5 separate regions of the Homo sapiens genome follow, and all the other regions are linked to region 1. Evidence: promoter capture Hi-C in 16 types of primary human blood cells and fetal thymus (Javierre and others, 2016). All regions are on one chromosome and are shown on one strand. Each heading gives the region's core, a stretch centred on a gene start or on the middle of the fragment in contact. The rest is flanking DNA. Distances are from core to core; before and after follow the strand shown.

The links. The method cuts DNA at HindIII sites, captures the fragments that hold promoters and counts their contacts. A CHiCAGO score of 5 or more calls a contact.
Region 2: a contact is called between a fragment that was not itself captured here and the fragment with the promoter of PGBD2 in region 1, in 6 of 17 cell types (naive CD8 T cells, non-activated CD4 T cells, total CD4 T cells and 3 more). The highest score is 10.6, in naive CD8 T cells.
Region 3: a contact is called between a fragment that was not itself captured here and the fragment with the promoter of PGBD2 in region 1, in 6 of 17 cell types (naive B cells, total B cells, M2 macrophages and 3 more). The highest score is 14.1, in naive B cells.
Region 4: a contact is called between a fragment that was not itself captured here and the fragment with the promoter of PGBD2 in region 1, in 1 of 17 cell types (total CD4 T cells). The highest score is 5.5, in total CD4 T cells.
Region 5: a contact is called between a fragment that was not itself captured here and the fragment with the promoter of PGBD2 in region 1, in 4 of 17 cell types (total B cells, activated CD4 T cells, naive B cells and 1 more). The highest score is 8.1, in total B cells.

The regions. Positions count from the first base shown.
Region 1 is chr1:248,904,222-248,908,887 of GRCh38, forward strand. It overlaps PGBD2 (piggyBac transposable element derived 2), which reads left to right and starts at 2,014. Exons shown (of 3, transcript NM_170725.3): 1 at 2,014-2,121. RefSeq lists enhancers at 1,644-2,565, 2,090-2,279 and silencers at 1,900-1,959, 2,370-2,459. The HindIII fragment of the contact is 4,441 bases long and covers 1-4,419 here.
Region 2 is chr1:248,414,409-248,418,814 of GRCh38, forward strand. No RefSeq gene overlaps it. Among named protein-coding and RNA genes, the nearest start is that of OR2T1, 14 kb to the left of the region's middle. The HindIII fragment of the contact is 4,322 bases long and covers 1-3,938 here.
Region 3 is chr1:248,620,317-248,624,377 of GRCh38, forward strand. OR2T11 (olfactory receptor family 2 subfamily T member 11) reads right to left here. Exons shown (of 2, transcript NM_001001964.2): 2 at 3,241-4,061. Among named protein-coding and RNA genes, the nearest start is that of OR2T11, 13 kb to the right of the region's middle. The HindIII fragment of the contact is 3,011 bases long and covers 1,268-4,061 here.
Region 4 is chr1:248,397,014-248,401,672 of GRCh38, forward strand. No RefSeq gene overlaps it. Among named protein-coding and RNA genes, the nearest start is that of OR2T1, 3.7 kb to the right of the region's middle. RefSeq lists a silencer at 3,241-3,441. The HindIII fragment of the contact is 7,230 bases long and covers 1-4,659 here.
Region 5 is chr1:248,605,436-248,609,471 of GRCh38, forward strand. No RefSeq gene overlaps it. Among named protein-coding and RNA genes, the nearest start is that of OR2T10, 9.8 kb to the left of the region's middle. The HindIII fragment of the contact is 607 bases long and covers 1,069-1,675 here.

The sequences.
Region 1 (4,666 bases), core at 764-3,263:
ATTAAAGAACTTCAAAATATGTATTTTCCTCAAAGGATTCTAGCTTAACGGGCTAAATTTTTTTTTTTTTCCCAATTCCTATCATGCAGTTCTTCTGCCATTCTACCCCAAATTTGACATTGTTTTCAAAGATTTGACTTTGTTTTTAAACGTAGCTTTATTCAAAGCAATGCACTGAAAATGTCTAGATGGACTCTTTGCAGCTCCATAAACACTTACACTTGGTCCCGATCTTTTTATTAACTTTAAATTACATATGCAAGTATCCAAATTGCAGTGAGAATTCTCTCTGGATCATAAAGGTATGGAAGAAACAGCCAGCAAGCACCTTATTACTCCTTGTTGAACTCACCCCCTCTTTGACCTCATTTCTTTGACTTTCTTTTGTCTCCAGCCATTCTCAAATGTGCTAGGCTTGCTTCGCCTCAGAGCATTTGCACATGCCATTCTCTCTGCTTCAAATATTTTCCCCCTTGAATTCTGCATGGGGAATTTGCTCTTCATATTCTTTGGCTTTTCCCTCAAATACAACCTTCTCACTTACCAACCTTCCCTGACCAAATTATTTAAAACTGAATTCACAACAGTCTTATTGGTCCCCTTTGCTTCCTTTATTTTCTTCCTAGCACTTTCCACTTTGACATGCCATATATTTTGTTTACTGTCTGGTTCTCCCACTGAAATGACAAGAGGGTTTTTCTCTTGTGCCTTTTCTTTTTCACTGTTCTAACATCACTGCTCAGAGGAGTGATTGTCACAGAGAAGACACTCATTTAACACTTGAATGAATGAATGAGACACAGGATCTGGGGAACAAAGCAAGTTAGAAACACCACCCTACCTTACCTAGAGTAGCACTCCCATTTTCCCATGGCTTATTGCCTGTTTTCTCAATTTGCTCATATGTGGAATGAATGACAAACTAATACGTGCCCTTCACTTCAGAATCTCACAAATGAGCATGATTTTTTTCTTCTGATCCAGGGGTTTTGGAACACACTTTACAGTGACCAAAAAACCTTTGTGAAGTGTCAGTGTGGAGAAGCAAATACAAACTCTTCACTAAGTGGCCCTCTTTTTGAATGTTAACACGGTTTGGTCCCAGGGATTTCTGTGTTCAAAGCCTTTCAGGGCAAGGCAGTTTTCTGCGGAGTACACTGTCCTATATACCTAATGGGCTACTGGGTTTCAGCTGGACAAAGTCCTTATAGAGCCGTGATTCTCAAGAAGTAGGGGGAGATACTTTTATTTGTCATAACTAGAGTGGAGAGAGTGTGGTGTGCTACTGGCATTTAGTTGCTAGGGATGCTCAATATCCTACAATTAAGGTTCTATTTTTACCAAGTAAAAATATAGGTAGGCAAGGTAGCCAGATGAAATACAGGGACTTCCAGTTAAATGTGAATCTTAGATGAACAACACTGTTACCTGAAACTCAAATTTAACTGTATTTTATCCGTGACCCTGCCTCCTATAATGCACAGGACAGCCTCCTTCCCTCTCAACAAAGAATTATCCAGGCCCAAAATGTCAAGAGTGGAGGTTGAGAAACCCTGCCATACAGCAGTGGTTCTCAAGCCCTAGTTTGTACCACAATTACCTTCAGGGTTGGTAAGGCCGATTATTGGGCACACCCTCAGAGTTTCTTACTCAGAAGGCCTGTAGTGGGGTCCCAAGATTTGCATTTCCATCGATTTCCCAGGTGAAGCTGCTGTTAGATTGGGGGCACATTTGAGAACCACTACCCTAGAAAGTCCCCATGCTCTCCTGATTAGGAAGGAGCGAGGAAGGTTTCCAAAGTAGGACAGGGGTGGGAGGGTAAGGGAGAGTGGCGGGAAGAGCTGGCCCGCTGGGGTGGGTTATTTCGGCCGTTCTGGCCTCGCAGGCGTTTTCGGGATCCCTCTAGGCGCCGCGGAGGTCCTGGAGTCTCGATGGTCGCTCGGGCCGGGGCGTGGCCTGGCCCGGGGGCGTGGCATGGAAGGCCGGCCGAGGTGCAGCGAGCCCTCTGGTGCCGGACGTTGCGCGGCCGCGACGCCCGACGCCAACGCAGGCGCAGCGCTCCGATTCGGCGCGGCTCATGGTCCGGTTCGGGCTCGCGAGTCTCCGTCTGGGGTAGGGCAGGTAGGCCTCAGTGTGCTCGCGCTGCAGGCAGGGCTTCGCTTGAGTACAGGAGTGGTTGGCGTTGATGTTGCGTTTTCTCAACGGCGGCATCCGAGGAGTTCGTCCTCACCACTGCGCGCCGACGGTGGGCTGGCGGGACCAGGACAGGAACAATGGGATTCCGAGGGCCGCAAGGGGGCGCTCCTTCTGCGGGTTGGGGTGCGAGGCCGGAGGCCGGGCCGGCTGAGCGGGAGGCGGAGCGGGGTGGGTGGGGACCAGGGCGGGGTCGGGCTAAAGAGGGATGGATTCAGGGCGGGGTGGGAGGGACCAGGGCAGGCTCGGGCGGGGTGGGCGGGACGAAGGAGGCGGGCGGCCTGAGGCTGGCGGCGGGACTGCGAATGCCACGTCACATCCTGGGGCGGGGTGGCTCTGTGCCGGGGCGCGCTGGGGGCGGGTCGTTTTTAACTGCGTCTGCCTGGGAAGCTGCTGAGGTTTCTGAGGGTCTTTGTTTGCCCTTCTTTCTCTTTTGCTAGTGAGGTGAAGAGAAGGGAGGGTTCTTCCGTATCCCACAAAAGCCATTCTGAGCTGTTGGGTGAAGGGGTGGCCTGCCCTTCCACACCTGTGGGATATCTTGTCAGGTGGGAGGAGAGACTGAGAAAAGAAATAAGACACAGAGACAAAGTATAGAGAAACCACAGTGGGCCCAGGGGACCGGCACTCAGCATACCAAGGACTTGCACCAGCACCGGTCTCTGAGTTCCCTCAGTTTTTATTGATTATTGTTTTCATTATCTCAGCAAGAGGAATGCGGTAGGAGAGCAGGGTGATAAGGAGGTCAGCAAAGAAACATGTGAGCAAAAGAATTTATGTCATAAGTTCAAGTGGAGGTACTATGCCTGGATGTGCACGTAGGCCACATTTATGTTTCTCTCTGCCCAAACATTTCAGTGGAATAAAGAATAACAGGGCAGCATTGCTGCCAACATGTCTTGCCTCCTGCCATAGGGCAGTTTTTCTCCTATCTCAGAATTGAACAAATGTACAATCAGGTTTTGTACGGAGACATTCAGTTCCCAGGGGCAGGCAGGACACAGTGGCCTTCATCTATCTCAACTGCAAGAGGCTTTCCTCTTTTACTAATCCACCTCAGCACAGACGGGTGTCGGGCTGGGGGACGGTAAGGTCTTTCTCTTCCCACGAGGCTGTATTTCAGACTATCACATGGGGAGAAACCTTGGACAATACCCGGCTTTCCAGGGCAGAGGTCCCTGTGGCTTTTCATGGTGCATTGCGCCCCTTGTTTATTGAGACTAGAGAATGGTGATGACTTTTACCAAGCATACTGCTTGTAAACATTTTGTTAACAAGACATGTCCTGCACAGCCCTAGACCCCTTAAACCTTGATTCCATACAACACATGTTTTTGTGAGGTCAAGGTTGGAGCAAAGAGGTTGGGGCAAAGTTACAGATTAAGAGCATCTCAGGGCAAAGCAATTGTTCAAGGTACAGGTCAAAATGGAATTTCTTATGTCTTCCCTTTCTACATAGACACAGTAGCAGTCTGACTTCTCTTTCTTTTCCCTACAGTTAGGCACCTGGCTCAGCTTTGGGGCATTTACATCTATAAAATGTCTTTTGAATAATTTTTATCTTGAATTAATTTCAGAGTTTCAGAGTGTTGTGAAACAAGCAAAAATTCCCATGTACGGTTCGTCTGGATTTCCTAGGGGTTAACATCTTATTTTACAAAACAGTCAACAAAACCAGGATATTAACACCTACAGGCCTTATTCGAATTTCTTTACTCTCACCTATTTCCATTTTGTAATTTAGGTTCCAAGACAGCATTTAGTTGTCCTGTCTTTCCTTGGAGAAATTTACATTTTAAACAGCAGCTCTCCCACCTCCCAATCCCCTAGGACCCTTTAGAGTGGCCTGGGGAGCTCCAGGTCTCACACCAAGTTGCTTTTTCTTTGTTGAGTGCCTGGGCCAGTTCAGTTGAGAATGCCCAGTTGGACCTCTGGGCAGCTCGTGACCACCCTCTGCTCTTCCTCCCAGTGCTGCTAGGCTTAGTGAATGGCACCTCTGTGCACCAGCCATAGGGTGCCTGAAATCTAGGAGGCTTCCCCGATCAGCTTTCTCCCCTGCCCTACCCCCTCAACCAATTATCCAGGCTTGATGGTTTTACATTTTAAGTCCTCCTTAAGTGTGTCCATTTCTCTCCATAGGCCCCACCCTTTTGCCGTAGCCTTTTTGTCCATCTCCCTGCATCTATGTTGGGGCCTGCATACTCAGTTGTCCATACTGCACCCAGAATAAGCTTGTTAACATACACCCTTCCTTCTGTTATGCTCTTCCTGTATTTTTTTTTTTTTTAAACTTCCCATAGCTCTTATAAAGACAGGCCTCCTTAACAGGGTCTTCAAGTCTCTGCAGGGCTGGTACAGCCTCTTGTACCCTGTCCCGCAGATTCCTTACTCTGGCGTCACTGCTTTGCTTCTCCTGTGCTGTGCCTTTTGCCTGGGGTGCTATTCCCTGCCTGCTGAGGGAATTGTTACTCTTTCT
Region 2 (4,406 bases), core at 528-3,027, 490 kb before region 1:
TTTAAAGTACTTTTTAATGGCTAGTGATGGATACATCTTATGAACTTTCCTTTTGGGTTATGCATCTTGGCATTTCAAAAATAATCTTTGGGTAATGTTTTCAAAACTTTAACATTTTCAAAAAGCTCTGTTTGAAATACCATTTGACCCAGCAATCCCATTACTGGGTATATACCCAAAGGATTATAAATCATGCTGCTATAAAGACACATGCACACATATGTTTATTGGGGCACTATTCACAATAGCAAAGACTTGGAACCAACCCAAATGTCCAACAATGATAGACTGGATTAAGAAAATGTGGCACATATACACCATGGAATACTATGCAGCCATAAAAAATGATGAGTTCATGTCCTTTGTAGGGACATGGATGAAGCTGGAAACCATCATTCTCAGCAAACTATTTCAAGGACAAAAAGCCAAACGCCGCATGTTCTCACTCATAGGTGGGAATTGAACAATGAGAACACATGGACACAGGAAGGGGAACATCACACACCAGGGCCTGTTGTGGGGTCGGGGGGAGAGGGATAGCATTTGGAGATATACCTAATGTTAAATGAAGAGTTACTGGGTGCAGCACACCAACATGGCACATGTATACATATGTAACTAACCTGCACATTGTGCACATGTACCCTAAAACTTAAAGTATAATAATAAAAATAAAGAAAACACAGAAAAAAACCCCAAAAAGCTCTGTTTTACCTCAATCCAATGATTTTATGCATCAATATTCTTTCTTATGAGCACGGTCATCTGCAGGGGAATGTGGGGTGTGTGTATAAGATTAAGAGCTTTATTATGAGTATGTTAAGTTTGAAATGTCTATTGAATATCTAAATAAAAATGTCAAGCAGCTAGATATTTTAGTCTAGATATCATTTTAGGTGGTAGATGTGAAGACAGGTTTCAGAATTATTGATACGCAGATTATGTGTTAACAGAATTAAAGAATAGGACAAGAGAATTTCAATATTTAAATACTAGACCACAAAAAAAGTGACAAGAAAGGGATAAAAAAGATGTGGAGCACCCAGAGGAGTGTGGTGTGGTAGAAACTTAGAAAAGACAGTCTTTTTAATAGAAGGGAGGGGTCTACATGTGAGTTTTTGGGTAAAGTTTAAGTAATGTGAAACAGAAAGTTGATTGCCTGAGAGTGCAAGATAACAGTCGTTCCTATCCTTCACAGAGGGGCTTCGATGGAGTGATTGGACAGAATATCTTGTGAAGTAGACTAAGGAGAAAGGAGGCTCAAAAATTGAAGAAAATCACAAAAGTTTGCTCTGAATAATGGAACAAATATAAAGTTATACATGGATAGTGACATGGGGTTAAGGGAATATTTTTTATATATGTATATGTACATATACATATATGTGTATGTATTTTTATATTTATTATGTATATTACATATAATATATATGTATGTTATATATATTTTTATATATGTATATATATGTGTGTGTGTGTGTGTGTATATATATATGCTGTTGACAAAAGCCAAACTCTCTAAAATATTTGAAGAGGTTTATTTTGAGCCAGATATGAGTGATCATGGCCTGTAACACAGCCTCAAGAAATCCCAAGAATAATCTTACCAAAATTGGTCAGGTGACAGCTTGGTTTTATACATTTTAAGATGACAGAAATTACAGGCAATATACATTTTAAGGAGAAGACAGAAATTAGAGGCAAAGACATAAATCAATGCATGTAAGATGTATGTTGGTTTGGCACGGAAAGGCGGGACTTCTTGAAGTGACAACTTATAGGTCATAGGTGGATTCAAAGATTTTATTATCAGCAGTTCGTTGAAAGAGTCAATCCTTGTCTAAAGACTTAAGAAATCAGTAGAAAGAAATGCTTCAGTTAGGGTAAGATGGTTTTCAAAACCACAGTTCTTGTTATATAGACGAAGCCTCTAAGTAGCAGGCTGCAGAGGGAATAGATTGTAAAATGTGTAAGACTCTTAGTTAAGTATCTTCTGGGTCCATAAAAGACCCAGAAACGGAAGGAGATTCTCTAGAGAATGCAAATTTCCCCCACAGGAAATGGCTTTGCAGGACCATTCTAAAATGTGTCAAAAATATATTTTGGGGTAAAAGATCTTGATTTTCTTCAGGACCTGCTATCTGTCATATGATACTATGCCAGAGTGAGGTTAGAATTTGGTATCTTGTTGCTGCAGAGAGTCTGTTTTGTCAGCCTCAGGACCTCTATTTTAACATTACTGTTGCTCAGTTGTGCCTAAACTCCAAAGAGAGGGGGTAGAAAGAGTCATGTCTGAACTCTCTTCTAGTTGTTTGGTTTCTTTGCGATCTCCTTAACCAGGAGAGTGTCAGTTGGGGTGGGGGCTTAGACTTTTATTTTTGGTTTACATTATTCTCCCTCAGGTCAAGATTTTCCAGAGGCAACATTGATGGCCAAAGTTTTATTTGTCCTCTATTGTTGCCAGAGTGTGTGGCTATGGCTATCTGCCCCAGGTGCATCATGTTCTTTGGTGGGATCCGTATGGCCAAGGGGCTTAGAGCCAAAAGACTTATAGCAAATTTAAATGTTGTAGGGCTGGATGAGAATGGAGATGGGCAGGCATTTATCAGCCGTTAAGATCTTTAAGCAATATAAGAGCCCAAAACCAAAAGATAAGGTTACAAAATTGACTTATCAATACATTCTGTGCATTGAGCAATACAATAATCTTGATTTTTGTTACAGACTTCTAGCAATTAGCTGTAAATAACAAAAGCATTTTGTTGAAACCATTTAAGCTAAAGAACACAGAGGCTTGTTTTGTGCTGCAGTGCTTTTTCGTGGTCTTTTTCATCATTTGTCCTGAGGTGGCTGATTTAAAAAGTTACATATATCTGCATAAATCTCACAGCTAGGAGCAGTATATCCAGGAGGCTTTGTGACGAGGTTTCTTGTTATGCTCTTGGTAATTTTCTTTTAATCCTGGGACAAGCATAAAATTCTTTATAGTTGGGATGGATGGAAAGCAGCCATGTAATAGCCCAGGAGGAAAAGGCCCCTACCTTGCCAGCTGTTTAGGCATCTGGATGTCTGTCCTTGATTTGGAGGCTCTGAAATAATTCTGTCTCTGAAATTAATCCCTTACAAGCTCACCTGCCCACCTCTTCCACAGTAGCCCCTGGGTCTAGAGGGAAGGTGCCTATGTAGCCTTAGTAGCAAGGTGTTAGCAATGAAGACAGATCAGGCCCAGTGAGAGTCTAAGCAGGTTTTACATTTGGCAGATATTAGGTAGAGAGACAAAGGTAATCTATCTGTGTTTTACCAATTTTGTAAGCTACATATAGCTCAAAAGGAAAAGGCATTTCTTTTTTTACTCTGGAAAACAAAATGTAAGGAATCAGCAACATTTTAAAGAAAAAGAGCTTAATTCCTGCCTTGCTCTGACAGAAGACGGAAACTCACAGGTAGCTAGCATTTATTATCTAACATTAAGGCATAGAACAAATTATATTAATTTAGATAGAGAAAAAATTATTAAATGAGTATTCATGCCTTTGTATACAAGCCTGGTTTAGTGTCATACAAAAGCAGTTTTTTTCACTCTCATCTTCTCCCAGCTCTGAAGATGAGGCTTTGGTTAACTTACATTTGATGTCAGATACTGATAGCGACAGGAAGCAGAAAAATTCTGGGCCGAAGAGGGTGGGTGAGGGCCCCACCCTCAAACCTGGAACTGTGGCCCAGAGTGAGAACATACATTCCTGTTTCCCACTCTAATGTTGCCTTTTCTAAAACTACCAATGGCCTGTCCCCACCATCATCCTGTGCCCATAAAATCCCAGGCTCAGCTGGCAAAGAAGAGAAGCAGCAGGACATCAGTGACTATGCCTGGATGTTGGAGCAAATTGGCTTCATTTCAGAGAGACAGCTTGATGGTATAGCTTCAGAGCTTTAGGGGAAGCTTACCTTCCCAATCCATTCCCTTTTCTGCTCCCCTTCCCACTGAGACCCACTTTCATCAGCAATGAAATCCCCGCATTTACCATCTCCAATTTGTTCCTGCAACCTCATTCCTCTTGGATGTCAGACAAGAACTTGGGTGCAGGTGCAAAAGGCTGTCACATTTACCCTCCACTAAGCTGTTAACACTTAAGCCATCTGTGGATGTCAAAGCTAAAAGGGCACTGACTGTAACACTCCTTCTGGGGCTTTGGGGGTCACAGGCACTCCCCTAGACGCTGCCATGGGGCCAGAATGAAGTTCGTTCCTGCCGGCACCCAAAAGTGCTAGCCCCAGCTCCTGCACCTGCTCAGCTGCATGCTTCCTCCCGTGATGGGTTGATCACAGCAGGTTTGAGTGAACAGAGTTTGCACCTGCTGGCACCGTGCACTCCAGTTCCTGCCCACAAAGGACTCAGGGAAAATTTC
Region 3 (4,061 bases), core at 1,523-4,022, 280 kb before region 1:
GTCATTATCTTTTTATCAGATCTTGAATTGCTTATTTGTTGTTTGTGTATGTTTATGTCCATGGGCACTAATATGGGTTCTTCTCACTACAAAAATCAGGGTCCCCTTCCTAAAATTCCGGCTAAATACTAAAGGGTTTTAAACCAAAAGTAAAATTCTAAGCCTCCCTCAACCATCTGAATAGGGCCCTCGTCTCAGCAAAGGCATTCCAAAGTTAACCTGATAAACTAGTTCAGGCCATGATAGGAAGGAAGAGCTTGACATGCCTCAGGATACCCTCCCTCCCTTTTGGAATTACTGATAGAACAGATTCTTTAAGACTTAAGTCTAATTAAAAAACATTTACAATCTTCTCTCTGAAGCCTGCTTGTTGGAGGCCTCATCTACAAGATCAAGTCTTGGTCTCCACAAACCCTTACCATAACCAGACATTTCTTTCTACTGATAAACAACTCTTTCAGCTAATTGCCAATCAGAAAATCTTTGAATCTGCCTCTGACTTAGAAACTCCTGCTTCCAATTGTTGTGTGTTTCCAGGTCAAACCACTGTACATCTTATACATGTTGACTGATGTCTTATGTCTCCCTAAAATGCGTAACACCAAGTTGTCCGGCCACCTCAGACCCGTGTTTCTCAGGATCTTCTGAGGGTGGTTCCATGGGCCATTGGTCACTCATTTGGCTCAGAATAAATCTTAAAATACAGGGTTTGACTTTTCATCGACAGGGTATACAATTTATATAATTTTCAATGAATAGTAAAAATTAAACTGTAGTATTTAGGAATATTTATCCAGTCATGCAAGAAGAAATCCAGGGAATAATTACTATGAAATTCATTTGGCAAAATAACTGACCAATATTCTTCGCTGTCAAGGCCCAACTAAAGAAATGTTAGAAACTTAACTGAAATGAGTGAGAATTGCTCAGTCAAGTTTCATTAAGCCAATATTAGAGTATGTCTAGAAAAATAAGCCACAGACACACCCATGGCCATTTTTCCAAAGAGGTTTTTAGAACACTCAGTACGTATATATTTTCTTAAGGTGGGGGAAGGCATATAGGAAGACGGGCGGGTTGGTGGTAAGGTCAATGGTTACGTTTCTGTGAGACTTCAGTTAGTGCCCAGTAAATGTACATTTTACACAGGATAAGGTGAATGTCTGAAGAGATAGAAGGAGCCAAGGAAGAGTCAATTATGCAGAAGTCCCTGGGTAGGTGGAGGAATGATTTGTCTCATCCGGTCTTTCTTCTGCTCCTGGAAAGAAGCTTGTCATCAACATTATCAGTGTGCAATTGAGCAGACAGAAGAGTTCAAGACCAGCCTGGCCAATATGGTGAAACCCTGTCTCTACTAAAAATACAAAAAATTAGCCAGGCATGGTGGTGGGTGCCTGTAATCCCAGCTACTTGAGAGGCTGTGGCAGGAGAATCACTTGAACCCAGGAGGGGAGGTTACACTGAGCTGAGATCATGCCATTGCACTCCAGCGTGGGCAGCAAGAGCAAAACTGTTTCAAAATAATGTCAGCATTAAGAGAAATTGAGTGACGGCCACATTGGAAGCTCATTGTGCTAATTTTGCACATTTTTGCATGTCTAATAGTTCAAATGAAAGTTAGAGACATTTAGAATAATGCCTGTTTTTGCCCTGGGGCATGTGCGGTGATCAAACAAGAGCGCCCTGGAGTGCTGGTTATGTTCCGTTTCTTGATGGGGTGCGGGGTTATTTCATGAATGGTTTCACAACTGTTTTCTTGAGATGATTAATAATGAGTTTTGCATGGCATTTCTAGTGTTATATTTCATAGTATAAGAAGAGATTAACGCTGATTTATAATGTGATTTTCTTAGAAGCCCTGCTGTTGCCTGCGTCATTAAGTGGTGATTCAATTCACTCCCTAAAATTACAAAGTGGCTGGAATTAAATATCCCCAAGCAAAGACTTCTTTCCTCTATGTTGTAGCAAATTCAGTAACTTTTCAAGTTTTACCAAATAAAGTGAGGGATATTAACTATAATATTTAAAGCTATTAAATTCTATCTATAATTACAGAAATATATATGGAGAAACAAACTTTTTGGCAAATTATTTGGCAATAAATAATCATAGATTCAAGGTTTTTATACAATTCATTGTATTTTTTCCAATTGATTCTGGAGGGATTACAGAGTAAAAATAACTGCTAAAATGCAGAAAATGTTTAATAACAAAAATGATGTCACCATCAGTCCAAAGGTACCGATATTATTCATTTTTTTTTTTTTATTCTCCTAATGATACATGCAGTTTTAAAGAATAGAGAACACATGGTGTTGTTTTAGGATAATGTCATATTACTAACTGGCCACAAGGTGTCAGGAGGAGGATGTCATGGTGTCCCATAGTAACAATCACTTGGGACTTCATATTCATGTATAGATTTCTTCTTCCTGTACAGATAGATCAGCAAGCCAAGAGAAAGTGGGGAGATATATAACCATCTTAGACGCAATCGCAAATGTCTCAGTGCAGTACCTGAGGTAGAAGCTATTCAACGAATCAAGGAACTCCTGATGAGAGCTTTGCCCAGGGAACCCACAGAAGACGGCTTGGCTAGATCACTCAGGCAGAGCCCCCATGGCCTGAAGGAGCAACAGTTGTAGGCTTAGAAAATATCTGCTCTAAGAAGCCTCTTCCTCATTCTTCAACTATGATAGACTCTGAGCAAGATAGTAAACTATGGCACAGAGAGGTTAGGTAACATGCTCAGGGCACACAGCCCAGAAAGAAATAGGCTAATATTCAGACTCCAGGGGGTTCAAGCTCCAAGCATATGGCCTTATCACCCTTAAATTGCCTTTGAAATTGGCAGATGGGGTGGAAATAATTAAAGAACAGTTAAATATTCATGGGGAAAAAACCTTATAAAAAGCTGTTCAACATCTGAACAATCTGTTGCTGGGCATATATGCTGGTATCACACAGTATTTTAGTGAAATCTGTGTGCCCATCTCCTCTTGGTGCCAACTACAACTAGGACACTCAGAGCAGGGACATTTTCCCACGCTAAATGGGAACCCATCACCAGAGAAGCCACCACCAAAGCCAAGATTACAGAGAGAATGTTTTAGGAGTAGGGTGGAATTTAACTTCTAAACGTAAATAATTAACATTTTGAAATGAAGTGACAGTGTCACCTTATAATGCAAAATCATGCCATATTATACAAGAAACTCCACACCATGAAGAATTCTGCCTATACAACTTTTAATTGCCCAAAGAGACAAATTTATTGAAATAAACAGCTACTGAACATCTATTACATACTGCAAATTATATGCCTTGGAAAAGCATAAATATGACACACTTTATTCACAAAGGAATAAGTTTGTAGTAGTAACAGCAGTTGCTGCTGTTATTTTGTCCTTGTTTTTAACATAATTCTAGTTAACATATTGAGTGCCTACTATTTTCTGGCCACCATCCCGAACACACATCATGAATCGTCTGACAAATGTGCTGTGCTAAATTCATAAATTCAATGCAAAGGAGGGGGAGTCCGAAGGTTGTCCTACAACCCAGATGTCTCTACTAGCTTATTAACTTACCTCTTCTCCAAGATGATTCTCTTCTCCTCTCAAACTTTTGACGGGACCACCCTGATCTTTACTCATAGACGCTCTCATTGATTCTAACTGCACCGAGAAGATACAAACCATCGGAAGGGATCTTAGTTATAACACACGCTCTGCCTGACCTCCTGCTATTGTCACTGAGTTGGCCATGCTCTTACAAAAGTTCAAACTCTCCACTTCTAAACTGGTTTCTGTGCTTTCGGCCACTCTCAAAGGCCATCTTTCTGAAACTTTCCTCCATTTCTCATATATCGATTTTCTTTTTGTACTGAATTATTCCTTTGAACTTCATACTCAATATCACATGACAGCACCATTAACATCAAACACATTGGTATCACGTTTTTCTAGTTATACTCCATTTCCTTTACAAAAAAATCTAAAAATTCATACTCAACTTACCTTATCCACTTCCTCCCCCTTGATTTTACCCTGAATCATCTC
Region 4 (4,659 bases), core at 1,214-3,713, 510 kb before region 1:
ATAAAGAAAATGTGGCAGATATATGCCATGGAATACTATGTAGCCATTTAAAAAAATGAGTCAATGTCCTTTGCAGGGACATGGATGAAGTTGGAAACCATCATTCTCAGCACACTAACACAGGAACAGAAAACCAAATGCCACATGTTCCCACTCATAAGTGGAAGTTGAACAATGAGAACATATGGGCACAGGGAGTGGAACATCACACACTGGGGCCTGTTGAAGTGTGGGGGGCAAGGGGAGAGAGAGCATCAGGAGAAATACTTAATGTAGATGATGGGTTGATGGGTGCAGCAAACCACCATGGCATATGTATACTTATGTAACAAACCTGCACATTCTGCACATGTACCCCAGAACTTAAAGTATAATTTTAAAAATTCGTTTAATCCAAAAAAGAAAGGGATAAAATATTCACAAACTGTGTATGCCAAAATGGTCTAAGATCTGCAGTATATAAGGAACTTAAATAATTCAACAAGCAAAAACAAACACCGCCATTAAAAAGTGGCCAATACCATGAATAAACACTTCTCAAAATAACACATATAATTGGCCACAAACATGAAAAAATGTTCAACATCACTAATCATCATAGAAATGCAAATCAAATCACAATGAGATACCATCTCATACCAGTCAAAATGGTCATTATTAAAAAGCCAAAAACAACAGATGCTGCTGAGGTTGTGGAGAAAAGGTAATGTTTATACACTGTTGGTGGGAATGTAAATCAATTCAGCCAATGTAGAAAACAGTTTGTAGGTTTTTCAAAGAACTTAAAACAGAGCTACCATTTGACCCAGTAATCCCATTACTGGGTATATACCCAAAGAAAAATAGATCATTATGCCAAAAAGACCCATGTACTTATATATTCAACACCATGCTATTCACAATAGCAAGACATGGAATCAACCTAGTTGCCCATCAATGGTAGATTGGATAAAGAAAATGTGGCAAAAAAAAAAAAAAAAAAGAAAATGTGGCACATATACACCACGAAATACTATGAAGCCATTAAAAAAGTATGAAATCCTGTCCTTTGCAGCAATATGGATAGAGCCAGAAGCCATCATCCCACGTGAATTACCACAGGAACAGAAAGCCAAATACTGGATGTTCCTACTCACAGATGGGAGCTAAACATTGAACACCTGGCCACAAAGATGGCAACCATTACATCCTAGAGGTGGGAGGAAGGGAGGGGGTAGGTGTTGAAAAACTGCTGGGTACCATGCTCACTACTTGAGTGATGGGATCATTTATAATCCAAACCTCAGCATCACACAATACACTCAGGCACATGTACGCCATGAATCTCAAATAAAGTGGAATGAATAAATAAATAAATAAAATGATTTTTTCAAAAGAAGTTAAATAAATGAATAGTAAAAATATAAAAGTTGGCCGAGTGCAGTGGTGCATGCCTGTAATTCCCACACTTTGGGAGGCCAAGGCATATGGATCACCTGAGGTCAGGAGCTCGAGGCCAGCCTGTCCAACATGGTGAAACCCCATCACTACTGAAAATACAAGATTAGCCAGGCGTGGTGGTGTATGCCTGTAGTCCCAGCTACTCGGGAGGCTGAGACAGGAAAATCACTTGAACCCTGGAGGTGGAGGCTGCAGTGAGCCAAGATCATGCCACTGCACTCCAGCCTGGGCAAGACAGAGTGAGACTCTTGTCTCAAAAAAAAAAAAAAAAAAAGTTGAAGTTAAAAAAATTAATTAACCTTTCTAGGAAAAACAACAGAAAACATTAAATCTAGTCCTTTTACATCAGAATTTCCAGATCTGTGTGTTTGTGTTTATTTATTTATAGATAGATGAAATGATTGATATATAGATGTGAATTGATAATATAAAAAATGATAATATTTTTGAGGTGCAACTTAACAAAATCAAAACTTTAAAAATATTCACACAAATGAATTAAATAATATTGACTGAGGAAAAGTCGATGAAGAAAACTTCCAAAATCTATACTCAAATTAGACATAAGGATTTAATCAGCACATTATTTTTTAGTCCCCTGAATTAAAACTGTATGTATGTTATAAAAATGGAGCATTAATTAAATAATATTGAGCATATCCATAAAGTATAGTACTTTGTGGATAGTGCATGCTACGTTTGGGAGAATATTTCACATCGGGGCACTTTTTATGTTGTATTTTGTGAACAATGCAAATTGTGGAATTACATGTTAACCCACAGACACTCATCACACACACATATATGTTGTTGTGTAAATGCCATATCTATTTATAGTGTTTAAGTTTCTGCATGTGTCTCTCTGTTGGTTCTCTACCTCTTGTTTAGTTACATAAAGCTCTTGTAGTTTACTGGTACATACACACACATACCCACGAACATACACACAAACAAACACATACAGTATAAATGCAATTTTGTAAGGATAATCATCTCTATGATGTGTTTTCGATAACCCTATCTGGTATTATGTTTTTCCCGATGGGTATGCGTTACCTTTATGCTCAAATAAAATAATAATTATTAAACTACCAACAAACATAACAGATGTTATGTTATTAAAATATAATAGAAATAAAGCTACTTTTTATCTTTTTAATGGCTTTCCACATTTGTTCCCACATTTCTCTGTGAGGAAGAGCTGCTGGCAGAACTTTCTGATGAAACACTCAGGAAATCAGTTTTACACTTTGAAGCACAGGAGTTGAAACATGTTCTCAAAGCCCATGTCACTTAAATGTTCACTGTTTTCCACCCCATCAATACACTTCTCATTAGCTGTAATAAGTCCGTCTCATTAAAGTCTCCTGAGATCCAAAAGGAAGAAACTTGCTCTTTCCCAGAGCACTTCATTCCATGTCCCTCAAAGAAAACTATTTAAACTCATGCCTCTTTTCAATCTGGGCGCTCCCTTGTCGCTCCAGGGATCTCAAAAGCAGAACACCCAGAATAATTCGGCACTCTTTACTGGTCTGCTGCTTTCTTCCTGCATTTTTAGTTTTTCAGACCTGTTTAGTTGCTAAATATTTCCCTGTAAAGATAAGAAATAGACATTATTACATGTTTCTAGAAGGCTGGAGAATTTATGCAATTTGTCCTGGCAATGCAAATTGTTTCAAGGATTTCTAAGGTGGCATTTATTTGTTTGGCTTAATAATACTTCCTTCTGCAGAGTTATATTACAAAAATAGCTCCTAATAAACTTGTTGCATGTCTCTCTTTGTCCTAACTCCATCATCAGTTGCTAAGGATACCTTCAGTCATGCCAAGTTCATAAATCCAAATTAGAAATCTATGCATACTGGATCTTCAGGGTAACATGCTGACAGCACTTTGGCATCCAGATGGCCTAGATGTTGAAGGATTTCCTGTTGTGGGTACCAATGACTATGAATTGCTTTGTGTGTTTTCTTCTTGGTATAAGTTAGATGAGAATTTAAGTCTACTAAATCTAATCATTTTTCCTTCTAGCAAAATATCACCTTCAACCTTCTAAAAAGTCTTAGTTCTTCATCGCTTGTTTAGTTACATAAAGTTGTTGTAGTTTGCCAGTAAGTTTTTGATTTACTAAATTATACATAACCTTCTCTATCTACTACTCTGAATGGCTATCCTGACAGATTCAGCTCTCTGTAAGTGACAGATAATCATCTTTTGTTGGAATACAGTTTGGAATAAAATTAGATATTTGGATAATTTTTATGAAAATTATGTATATTGTATTCCTTGATGTCTACTTAGTGATGTGTGTCACATGCTGTTTTGAGTGGGTGGCATTCAGATTGCATGGATGAGAGGAGATATGAGAAATGTGAGAACATATAGAACACATGAATACATTACTTTATGAAGCTCTTTGAAAATTAAATAATTGGATTTAATAGTTAAGGTTTTGTCTAAATGATGCAACATCCCTCAGTAAAATTAGGCAATTAAAATGGATCATCTAGGAGCTTCTGCTGTACTTAGACTCACTTTGTTTGTTCCACTCTTCCTATTCCCTTAATGAAAATCCAGGTCTTTTGGAATTATGCAGGAATTTCACAGGTAAGAAGTCAAATGCTGATGAGCACCTAGACTGACTCCTCCTCATAGTAGCACTTTAAATATTTGGTGCATATGCAAATGACCGGGTTGCCAGAACATTTCATTGTGGTCTGACTGAATTTACGTTCTTTATATGACATAAACAAGATTTACGTAAACTGGATCTAAGAAAGTTGAGGCAGAGTTGTCTGCAACTCCTGGGCTGGAAATCTCAGGCACAAGTATAATGAGGAATGACTGTCCCATTCCCTCCATGCCAAATGCAAGTGCATTGAGAAAAAGAGTGCCTGTCTGATTATCTGTGGGAATTACATGGAGTGAGTGTTGTAAATCTCAGGTAGAAGGATGCCATTGAGTGTAACAGTGCAAAGAATCTTTTCTTAAATGTTTGCTGCTTTTCTTAAAAAAATAATTTAAGCAAACTTTAGTCTTATGAATTAGATAGGATAAGGACAATACTGTTCGAAAGGCACAAAAGATCTAAAGGAAAAACCTGTACTTACTCCTAGTTTCTAAAGTACAGACTATGAACCAGGCTTCCTGAATCTCTGAACAGTGCATTGTCTTTATCTCCTTCCCCTCGTTTTACAGATAAGAACACTGATGATTGGA
Region 5 (4,036 bases), core at 122-2,621, 300 kb before region 1:
GTGGGATCCAGTGTCTGTTGTTCCCCTTTGTGTCCTCATCATTTAGCTCCCACTTACAAGTGAGAACATGCAATATTTGGTTTTCTGTTCCTGTGTTAGTTTGCTAAGAATGATAGCCTCCAACTTCGTCCATGTTTCTGCAAACAACATGATCTCATTCTTTTCATGACTGCATAGTATCGCATGATATATATGTATCACATTTTCTTTATCCAGTCTACCATTGATGGGCGTTTAGGTCGACTCTATGTCTTTGCTATTATGAACAGTGCTGTTATGAACACATGCAAGTATGTGTCCTTATGATAGAACAATTTATGTTCTTTTGGGTATATACCAAGTAATGAGACTGCTGAGTCGAATGCTAGTTCTGTCTTTATATCTTTGAGGAATTGCCATAGTGTTATTCACAATGATTGAACTAATTTACACTCCCACCACCAGTGCATATGTTCCCTTTTCTCTGCAATCTCATCAACATGTTATTTTTTGACTTTTTGATAATAGTCACGCTGACAGGTGTAAGATGGCTTCCCAATGTGGGTTTGATTTTCATTTCTCTAATGATCACAGATGTTGAGATTTTTCTCATATGCTTCTTGGCCACAAGAATATCTTCTTTTGAAAAGTGTCTGTACATGTCCTTTGCCTACTTTTTAATTTTTTTCTTGTAAATTTAAGTTTCCTATAGATACTGGACATTAGACCTTTGTCAGATGCATAGTTTGTAAATATTTTCTCCCATTCTGTAAGTTGTCTGTTTATTCTGTTGATAGTTTCTTTTGCTGTGCAGAAGCTCCTTAGTTAGATTCCATTTGTCAGTTTTTGCTTTTGGCATCTTCATCATGAAATCTTTGCCCATTCTTATATGCTGAAAGGTATTGCCTGGGTTGTCTTCTGGGGTTTCTAGAGGTTTGGATTTTGCATTTAAGTCTTTAATTCATCTTGAGTTGATTTTTGTAAATGGTGTGAGGAAGTGGTCCAGTTCTAATCTTTTGCATATGAGTAGCCAGTTTTCCCAGTACCATTTATTAAATAGGGAGTCCTCTCCCCATTGCTTATGTTTTAAGCTTTGTCAAAGATCAGATGGTTGTTGGTTTGTGGCCTTGCTTCCGAGTTCTCTATTCTGTTGCTCTATGTGTCTGTTTTTTGGACAAGTGCCATGCTGTTTGGTTACTGTATAATCTTGATGTGGTCCCAAAATGGGAGGAAGTGCAATATGCTCCACCTGGAGAGGGAGATGGAGAATGCCAAAGATTTCTGGAGAGGTGGACTAAGGCAGACCCTAGAGGGCTTGGTAGGGACGATAATCATTTCTACCACACAGTGTTGTTAAAAGATTCAGATGCAAAATCTCCCATAAATCATAGCAGGAACTACACAATCCATAAAAAGCAACCTAGTAAGATTTCAGTGAGTAGGCTACTAATTAATCAGTATGTTTCCCCTAAGCCAGCAAAAACCAATTCTAAAACAGAGTGAGAAGAAACCTACTCCAGAAAGCGAGCATAGAAATACAGGTCTAGAATTAAAGGTTCACAACATGTGCAATATCTGTGGTGAAGCATCATCACACTCTTCAAATTGGACAAAGACAGCTGGATGGAAGTCTCTACATGGTACACAGGTAGATTTCACTTAAAATAGTACAAAAATCCCAATATGACCTTTATCAAGCTTTGTTGATTTATTATTCTTGTTATGCTGGTTCTATTGTTCATACCTCCCAATTCTGTGAGCTGCTGTACGAAAAATAAAGCGTCTCCGTGCTAAAAGAAAAAAGCCAAAGAACAAGGCGGCCTCCACACTTCTACCATCTAAATCTCCTCACGTGCACCTCATCAATAGAACCTAAATTACTGGTGAATCTCAGATACCATGGAGTTTGTATACATAGATTTTAGTTTTCCAGCTTTACCAGTCAAAAGACATATGAAGAAGTTGGGATGAAAACAAGCAAGCCAACTACAGTATCCTCGGCTTCTGCAACACACATTTAGGTTTTGCCTTTACTTCAATACCCTTTCTCTTTCAATAGGTCTGTCCGTTCAATTTATGCAAATTATGCAATTTCAATTTATGGAAATTAGAAATGGTTGGTCTCTTTTCTGACACCTTATTTTTGCTATGCTTCCTTTTTTAACTTTTTATTTCTCCCCATGTATAGTTAATTATGTGTTTGTGTTTGAGAGCTCGGTTTTTAAAATTAAAATTTTTTACTTTTTCATTTTATTCATTTTTTCCAACCTCAGAAGAGCACATTGTTCTTTTAGATCTTTGGATTACTCTTATATTTCAAATAATATGCTCAAATGTCTAGTTTTTCCACAATCTAATTACTATTTAAGTACATTTACACATTTGCCACTCTCTCCACCATGCACTCAATTTTAGTTTTTCAGTTACATTATTCCTCTTAAAACCTTTTAGCATATCCCTATACTTTAATCATATAATTATATCCGTATTAACTGATTCATCAAGTATAAATTGTAAAGAGGTTGGTCTGCCAAGGAAGGTATGGATTTTGTGAAGATATAAAAGAAAATAAAAGACATGTAAATACTGGTAGAAGGAGACATCTTTATTAGTCATTTCCACATCCATCTCCCCAGTTTCTAGATTTTTTTATATTGTTATCACAGTCTATATTGTCTCAGTTTGTTACATTTCTATTTTAGTCATACCTTCATTTACTTATTCATATAGAGTCATTTTCTCATGTGTTTTTATTAAATGCTTTTACATATTATCAGGAACCTTTCCATTATAGTTTCTCCAGGCATCCTTTGGTGGGTTAAGGTTTGTCCTCAACCTGTTTTATTGTGATGTATATATGTGGCTATTCTACTTTTCCTTTCTCTTAAATCTTAAAGAATGGCTTTGTTTTTTAAAAGATATTCCACTAAAATATTGTTAAGTATTGCTCTATTTTTTATCATTTAATATAAATAAAATTCAAAGACCGGCCTAATACCACTATATTGTGATATTTTGCCTAGATTTCCTAGTAATTCTAACTTAGACACACACAGTACCATATTTTTGTGGGACATATCTGGATATAGAAAATACTATATCACATTTTGAAAAAGTATCTGCATGTACATTTTCATTCTAATCATTTACATGTATTTTTCAACCACAATATTTATGTTTGACCCTTTTTGTTGGTTTCCAAATCCACTGACACTTTTTAACCTCTCTCTTTATTTTCCTCAGGATTTTTAAGCCTCTTTTTCTGGTCCTTCATTATTTTTAAGCTGTTTCTCTTCATTTGTTAACATATTTTTATTTTACTTTTATCTTCTATTTATTCTCTAACATCTGTCACCTCAGTATTGATTTCTGTTTTTGCTTTATACCGATTCCTTTGACCCTCATGTAGCATTTGAATTCTATTACAAAGAAATATCAGATTTCATTTCAACTTTATTTCAAGGGAACCAACTTTTCATAATTTTGGTAGATATTATGTTGTATGTTTTCTATTTTGCTTTAGCTTTCTTTTTACTTTTGATATATGATGTTGCCTAAAACGAAATATTTAAGTAAATGTATTTCCATTCCTAGCTACCTATGTGTTTTAGGCAGATATGAGTTTTGAAATGTATTTGAAACCTTTTGGATCCTTTATATATGCTACATAGCTTTCATAGGACACCAAGCGACGCAATGTTTTACAGCCTTGTCTTGTATATTCTGTCCTATCCATTGTTACATGTCTGAGACCAAATTTGGCTGTTTTTATCATTTCTCTTAAACATCAGAACCTCATCTCCATCATTTTTCTGTAAACCTTGCTTTGAATTCTTCAGTCTCTCCTATCTTTAGTTATCTAATAACACATGCAATTTAATTCAGACTGATAAAGGATATTGTCTTAAATCTTTCTGCCTCTCTTTTGTCCTTACTGTGCCCCCAGTGACCAGCATAGGAATGGGCACAAAGCAGGCACCTGACTGTGGAGTGAATAAACCAATGCCTGGCAACATTTAGAATTTATAATCGGCAAATCCACTACTTAATTATATTG